2 separate regions of the Homo sapiens genome follow, and region 1 is linked to region 2. Evidence: promoter capture Hi-C in human tissues and cell types (Jung and others, 2019). All regions are on one chromosome and are shown on one strand. Each heading gives the region's core, a stretch centred on a gene start or on the middle of the fragment in contact. The rest is flanking DNA. Distances are from core to core; before and after follow the strand shown.

The links. The method cuts DNA at HindIII sites, captures the fragments that hold promoters and counts their contacts. A contact is called where the count stands out against the background at its distance.
Region 1: a fragment that was not itself captured here is called in contact with the fragment with the promoter of PXDN in region 2 in 2 of the 25 tissues and cell types used here (aorta and heart right ventricle).

Annotation. Positions count from the first base shown.
Region 1 is chr2:1,632,300-1,636,080 of GRCh38, reverse strand. It overlaps PXDN (peroxidasin), which reads left to right. Exons shown (of 23, transcript NM_012293.3): 22 at 560-673; 23 at 1,758-3,781. The coding sequence ends at 1,877. It overlaps LOC124907723 (a long non-coding RNA gene), which reads right to left and starts at 2,050. Exons shown (of 2, transcript XR_007086188.1): 1 at 1,708-2,050; 2 at 1-396. The HindIII fragment of the contact is 3,337 bases long and covers 314-3,650 here.
Region 2 is chr2:1,743,092-1,747,192 of GRCh38, reverse strand. PXDN (peroxidasin) reads left to right here and starts at 2,678. Exons shown (of 23, transcript NM_012293.3): 1 at 2,678-2,937. The coding sequence starts at 2,738. The HindIII fragment of the contact is 6,203 bases long and covers 1-3,504 here.

The DNA.
Region 1 (3,781 bases), core at 733-3,232, 110 kb after region 2:
CTCATGGCCCAGGCATTTCCGGCCACTGTCACCCTGTCTGCCCCCCGGCCCTGCAAGATGCAAGAGAGGGTTTGAGGAAGGAGACCCTTCCAGGAGGCTTCTGCTACCCCTGTGCATGGCACAGCGGTTGGAAAGGTCACCTTGTTATGGGGCCCCGTGCTTCCAGAGAAAAGCCAGTGGTGTTGTTACTCGGAAAATAAGGCAGACTTGACTCTGGGGATTCTGAGTGATCATCGTTCGTTCTGGTGGAAGTGTAGGTGCAGGACGTTCTCGTCATCTGGTTGAATCTTGCTCCCACAGTCCTCTGAGAACGTCGCCTTTGTGACTACGGTTTTTATTTGACAGCACGGTGGTGGGAATGTCTTCCATTGGGGCGTGTGGTCAGCTGCCGCCAGTCTAATAAGGACATTGGAGATTCTGTAAAAGTTCTTCAGAAATATTCCCCTCAAATGTTGTTTATTTTAAGGCATTATTTTCAGTGAAATAACATCTTTTAATACAAGAGCCAAGCTGTTACTCTGAAGTGCCCAATGAATGAATGTTCTTTGCATTGCTGCAGATAAAGAAACTTGAATCACGGCTCAGTACCACAGAGTGCGTGGATGCCGGGGGCGAATCTCACGCCAACAACACCAAGTGGAAAAAAGATGCATGCACCATTTGTGAATGCAAAGTGAGTATGGGGGGCTCTATCTTCATGTCCTAAGGTATACGCAAGTCCGAGAGTCCCATGTGACCACTCAGGTGGGTGGCCCAGATGTCAGGGCCAGGCCCCTCCCCGCCTACCTGTGCTGGCCTCCATCCCTCCTTCACTCCTATGGAAGCACCAGGCAAGCCCAGCTCTCTGTGCACAGAGGACGTGCTAGGAGGCCCAGAACCTCAGCATGGTCCAACCCCACAGAGGGCGGGCAGCCCCTACTCTGTGCAGGGCCACCTGGGGCTGCTTGTGTGCACTGGCTTCACCTCCCACCAGCTGTGGCAGGAATACTCATGCCATGGAAACCCATGAATGGGGTAGATCAGCTCCTCCCTGCAGAGCTGGTGGGTAAACACTGACCTGCCCACCACTGGCCCTGTCCCATCTCCAGTCAGAGCTGGGGGTGTTACAGAGGTCACTGGAGTCCCTGCAAAGGGAGACTGGTGGCAGGTGGAGGGTGCCCTGGTGCCGGCAATGGACAGACGTCTGGCTGGAACCAGGCTCCGTGGAAAGCTTGGGGCATAGTGTGAGGAGGCAGGATGGGGAGGACAGCGCGCCAGCCCGGGCACTTCTCTTGCCATGGCCATTGGGAGAGGACGCGCATCAGTGTCCCTGAGCTGGTCAGGTTTGGGAAGGGCAGACCGGGGAAGAGCAAAGCCCTGTCCCTTCCCCCCTCTCTCTAGTCCCATCCTGCTTCCTGACAACGCCCACCCCCAGACACAGTCCGAGGGGATCCAGGTGTGAGGTGGGAGGATGTGTCCAGCTGGTGGTCTTGGCCCCTCAGGGTGAGAGGACCGTGGGCATGGACGGAAGGGTGGGACGGGAGCCTCAGGGAGACTTGTTATGGGGGCTCCCATTAACTCATACCTGTCTGCAACTATGAAATCCTAAGAGAACCACAAAATCCATGCCCACAGGGCAAGTACAGCGGGCAAGGCAGGGGCCTCAGGGCAAGGCCTGACTCATGGCCGTGGCTGACACCTGTCCCGGAGCTGACAGGCTTTGCTCACCTGAAGGCCATCCCAGAGCTGACAGGCTGTGCTCCGTCTCTCTTCTCCAGGACGGGCAGGTCACCTGCTTCGTGGAAGCTTGCCCCCCTGCCACCTGTGCTGTCCCCGTGAACATCCCAGGGGCCTGCTGTCCAGTCTGCTTACAGAAGAGGGCGGAGGAAAAGCCCTAGGCTCCTGGGAGGCTCCTCAGAGTTTGTCTGCTGTGCCATCGTGAGATCGGGTGGCCGATGGCAGGGAGCTGCGGACTGCAGACCAGGAAACACCCAGAACTCGTGACATTTCATGACAACGTCCAGCTGGTGCTGTTACAGAAGGCAGTGCAGGAGGCTTCCAACCAGAGCATCTGCGGAGAAGGAGGCACAGCAGGTGCCTGAAGGGAAGCAGGCAGGAGTCCTAGCTTCACGTTAGACTTCTCAGGTTTTTATTTAATTCTTTTAAAATGAAAAATTGGTGCTACTATTAAATTGCACAGTTGAATCATTTAGGCGCCTAAATTGATTTTGCCTCCCAACACCATTTCTTTTTAAATAAAGCAGGATACCTCTATATGTCAGCCTTGCCTTGTTCAGATGCCAGGAGCCGGCAGACCTGTCACCCGCAGGTGGGGTGAGTCTTGGAGCTGCCAGAGGGGCTCACCGAAATCGGGGTTCCATCACAAGCTATGTTTAAAAAGAAAATTGGTGTTTGGCAAACGGAACAGAACCTTTGATGAGAGCGTTCACAGGGACACTGTCTGGGGGTGCAGTGCAAGCCCCCGGCCTCTTCCCTGGGAACCTCTGAACTCCTCCTTCCTCTGGGCTCTCTGTAACATTTCACCACACGTCAGCATCTAATCCCAAGACAAACATTCCCGCTGCTCGAAGCAGCTGTATAGCCTGTGACTCTCCGTGTGTCAGCTCCTTCCACACCTGATTAGAACATTCATAAGCCACATTTAGAAACAGGTTTGCTTTCAGCTGTCACTTGCACACATACTGCCTAGTTGTGAACCAAATGTGAAAAAACCTCCTTCATCCCATTGTGTATCTGATACCTGCCGAGGGCCAAGGGTGTGTGTTGACAACGCCGCTCCCAGCCGGCCCTGGTTGCGTCCACGTCCTGAACAAGAGCCGCTTCCGGATGGCTCTTCCCAAGGGAGGAGGAGCTCAAGTGTCGGGAACTGTCTAACTTCAGGTTGTGTGAGTGCGTTAAAAAAAAAAAAAAAAAAGAATCCCTATACCTCATTTGTATTTTTAAAATGCGTGATGTTTTATGAAATTGTGTCCATTTTTTAGGTATTAGATATGGCAGAAAAACCATTTCCACTATGCAAAGTTCTTTTAGACGTCAGTGAAAATCAACTCTCATACCTCATGGTCTCTCTTTAATTGACCAAAACCTTCCATTTTTCTCTAAATACAAAGCGATCTGTGTTCTGAGCAACCTTTCCCCGAACACACAGCTTCAGTGCAGCACGCTGACCTGAGTATCCACCATGTGCCAGGCACAGTGCTGGGCACACGAGGCACCAAGGTCCGGGCCACCTGCCCGCAGCAAGGCCCAGCTGAGGTGGTGGAGGGAGCCCCTGAGGTCAGGGGCCGTTTCGGTTCAGGGTGGCAGGTGTCCAGCACTGGGGTATGGCGTCGAGGCTTCCATGGGGTGGGGGAGGCCAGCTTCCTTCTGACAGGATGGGCGCATACAGTGCCTGGTGTGATTTGTGCACAACCCGTGTTCCAGGTGCACATCCTCCCAAGGAGACACCCAGACCCTTCCAGCACGGGCCGGCCAAGTTGCTGCGGCGGAGGCAGCATTTCAGCTGTGAGGAAGGTCATTGGATTCATGTGTTTTATCTGTAAAAATGGTTGTCTTAACTTCTTAACCTCATATTGGTAAGTGATTGATAAAAATTGGTTGGTGTTTCATGACATGTGGACTTCTTTTGAAATAGCAAGTCAAATGTAGTGACCAAATTGTGGAAGAGATTTCTGTCAAATAGGAAATGTGTAAGTTCGTCTAAAAGCTGATGGTTATGTAAGTTGCTCAGGCACTCAGATGACAGCAGATTCTGGGTTCTGGGAGTGTTCTGTGCCTCTTA
Region 2 (4,101 bases), core at 1,429-3,928:
TGAGATGGCGTGTGCAGTGGGAAGCGGACCCACTGGAATCTTTGGGTGGGACCCAAACTCAACCACTGCTATGTGTAGACAGGATCTTTGAGGAGAGATGGCATCTGCAGTGTGAACCGAACCCACTGGAGTGTATGGATAGCATCTTGCAGGAGTGATGACATCTGCAGTGTGATCTGGACTGCCTCGAGTGTGTGGGTAGGATCCTGCAAGAGTGATGGCATGTGGAGTGAGCACTGCATCCACAGGACTGTGTGGACAGCAGCCTTCAGCAGTGATGATGTCTGCTGTGTGAAGTGGAGCACTGTAGTGTGTGGGTAGGGTCCTGCAGGAGAGATGGCAACTGGAGTGTGAACTGCACCCACTTGAGTGAGAGGTTGGGATGCTGCAGGTGGATGGCATTTGGAGTGTGAACTGGACCCACTTGAGTGTATGGGTAGGGTCCTGCAGGAGAGATGGCAACTGGAGTGTGAACTGGACCCACTGTTGTGCCTGGAGAGGATCCTGCAGAAGACAAGGCATCTGCAGTGTAAACTGGGCCACTGGGGTGTGTAGCTAGAATCATGCTGGAGTAACGGCTTCTGGACTGTGAGCTGGCCCCATTAAAGTGTGTGTATAGGATCCTGCAAAAGTGATAGCCTCTGGAGTGTGAATGGGACCCACTGAGGTGTGTGGATAGGATACTGCAGGGGTGATGGTGTCTGCAGTGTGAGCTGCAGCCCTGGGGCATGTGGATAGGACTCTGCAAAGAGACAGCATCTGTGGTGTGAATGGCACCGGTGGAATGTGTAGAGAGGATCCTGCAAAAGTGATGTCCTCTAGAGTGTGAACTGGACCCACTGGAGGGTGTGGACATCGTCCTGCAGGAGAGATGGCATCTAGAGTGTGAATGGCACCTCCGGAGTGTGTGGATAGGAGCCCGCAGGAGAGAGCACATGTAGAGCGTGAACTGGACCCACTGAAATGTGTGGACAGGATTCTGCAGAAGATACGGCATCCGGAGTGTGAAATGCACCACTAGTGTGTGTGCATAGAATCCTGCATAAGTTTTGGCATCTACAGTGTGAACTGGAGTCACTGGAATGTGTGAATAGGATCTTGCAGGAGAGATGTCTGCAGTGTGAGCTGGACCCACTTCTGTGTGTGGATAGTATCCTGCAGGAGAGATGTTGTCTGCAGTGTGAGCTGGGCCCACCGGAGTGTGTGAATAGGATCCTGCAGGAGAAATGGAATCCGGAGTGTGAGCTGCATCCGCTGTAGAGGGTGGATAAAATCCTGCAGGAAAGATGGCATCTGGAATGTCAGCGGGAGCCACCGACCTCTGAGGATGCACCCCGCAGGTGTGATGCGGGGCCAGTTCCAAGGCTGGGTTAGGTTTTACCCTGGCTTCTGTGTTGTACTCTCATTCTCTTCCTCTTTCTTCTAATACCTGCTCTGGGAGGCATCAGGCCATGTCCAGTGTGCAGGCCATGGAGACCCACACGGCAAGGAACTGGAACCCCCTGCCAGCAGCCTCGGGGGTCCAGTCCTTAGATGGTGCCCTGTGGTCAGCAATGCACCTGTGACCTCCGGGCTATGTCTCGTGGTAGTTGCTTTTGTGTTTTAACATAGCAACAGGAAACTAGCCTATTACCCACCAATCCCATTCCAGGCTGCTTTCAAACGCAGCTCAGGCTAGAACACCAGCACGGGGACACAGCTGAGACTTGGGGTTTGCGACGGGAACACGCCCATGCTGTGCCTCTGAATCTGGCACCGTCACCCTGTGGCCTGGGTTCAGCAACTTGGCCTCACCTTCCTTGTCTGTGAAATTCAGACTGGGTCCTTGTGAGATGATTGGAGAGAATGTATGAACTATGTGAGAACGCCACCTTTGTGCGTATCTCACGCAGTGTCTTCCCTCCTTTCCAAAGTCTTCTGCTGTCTCTAGACACACCCGACGTGGGGGGGGGGGGTTCCCTGGGTCTCCTCCTAGGTCTGTCCCAGGAGGGCACGCACTGAAGGCCGCGAGAATCCCGGGGGCTGCATTGCGCCGCGCCAAGGACTCCACACAGGACCTTTCATTTTCCCAACTGTGCTGAGCCAGGCGGCCGGCAGAGAGCAGGTGGCTGACAGGCCCCGGGGAGCCGGACCGCCTGGGTCTAATCTTCCCGCAGACTCCCTTGCTGTGCGCTTTGGGGCTTGGGCCTCAGTTTCCTCAAAAGGAATGAGGGGCTTTTTTGGAACGTTAAATAATTTCCTACGTGGTTGCGGGTAGGGAGAAGGAGAAAGAGAGGAGCGCGCCTGCGCGCCTGGAATCGTGCCCGGATCAGAGCAAGCGCTCTAAAAGTGTTACAAACATTAAGGCGCCAACTAAAAAACCCGTAGTGAGCGCAGGCAGAAACCACGGGTAAGAGAAGTGGAGAAGCTTCGCGTAGGCCCCAGGGTCCCGAGCCCCGAGTCTCGAGCGCAGAATCAGGGGTGCCAATGCTCTCCTCCGCGCCCCCGAGCGCTCGCCTTGGCCATGCGGGCCGCCCCACCGGGATGAGGGCGCTCAGGCCGGACGCTGGGGCCCCGGGTTCTCGCCCCGCCCCGCCCTCGGGGATTCAGAGGGGCCGGGAGGAGCCTCGCGCATGTGCACAGCTGGCGCCCCCCGCCCCCCGCGCACAGCTGGGACGTGGGCCGCGGCCGGGCGGGCGCAGTCGGGAGCCGGCCGTGGTGGCTCCGTGCGTCCGAGCGTCCGTCCGCGCCGTCGGCCATGGCCAAGCGCTCCAGGGGCCCCGGGCGCCGCTGCCTGTTGGCGCTCGTGCTGTTCTGCGCCTGGGGGACGCTGGCCGTGGTGGCCCAGAAGCCGGGCGCAGGGTGTCCGAGCCGCTGCCTGTGCTTCCGCACCACCGTGCGCTGCATGCATCTGCTGCTGGAGGCCGTGCCCGCCGTGGCGCCGCAGACCTCCATCCTGTGAGTGCCGCGGGGGACGCCGGGGGCGCGGGGTCCGGGGCTTCGTGGAGATCCGGGAGCGCAGGGGTGATCGGAGGTGGGGGGCGCGGAGGGTGGAGGGGGCATCGGGCGCGCGGGGGGCCTGGGGACTTGGGACGCAGAAGGGAACCTCCGAAGGGGGACGTGGGGGGACCTGGGCGCGGGGACCCGCTGGGCCTTTGTTCGCCCTGCGGGAGACGCCGAGGGGCGGAACAGAGCGCTGTGCGCGCGGCCTTCGTAGCCGCCTTTGTTCGGAACTCGGAATCCCCGCAGGACTGGGAAGTTGTTGGAGCCTCCGGGGCTCCCCCCGCTCGCCTCCCGCCGCCCCCTCTCATGCTCCGCCGGCCTCCCGCTTCCCCCTGGTTCGCGGCCCCTCCTCCGCTCACCTTTCCCCCGCTCAGGACCCCTCGGTCCCCCTCCGCTCCCCGAGCGCGGCGCAGCCCCCTCCGTCCTCCCAGCCCCCTCCGCCCCGTTCCTCGTCCTGTTCGCTCCCCTCCTCCGCTCCTCTTCCTCCTCCCCTTCCTCCTCCTCCTCCCCTTCCTCCTCCTCCTCCCCTTCCTCCTCCTCCTCCCTTCCCCTCCTCCTCCCCCCCTTCCTTCTCCTCCCCCAGCCTCCGCCCTCTCCCCCTCCCCCGCCCCTTGGAGCGCAGTGCCCACCCCATCCCCCCGCGCCGGGGAAGCCTCCCCAGAGGAGCCTCAGTTCCCGCAGCCGCGGCGCCCCCGCTCCCAGTGCCCCCGCATCTGCCCGGAGCGTCCTCTCCTGGGGTGTCCTGGGGGCCCCGCGCTTCTCAGGGGCTTTTCCTGCGCCCGGAGCGAGCCGGGCGGCCGGGGTTCCCGAGAGGGGCCGCGCGGTAGTCTCGGGGCAGCCCGGGTCTAGATGGAGCCGGGACTCAGAGCGGGTTTCTGCCTCGGGCATTTCTCTTCTTTCGCTTCTAATCCACGCGAGCGTGTTCGCAGTTGCGCTATACGTTTAACCGGATGCGTTGCGTTGGGGTTGACACCCTGTCCTGCGGGCCGTCCCGCGTCACGGTCTCCACAGCAGGAATCCCCATCCCTCCGCCCCGCGGCTCCAGGTACCGAGATGCCGCCAGAGTTCGCTGCAGGCCTCCTGTGTTCTGAAGCGAGTCGGATTCAACATTTTCGGGAT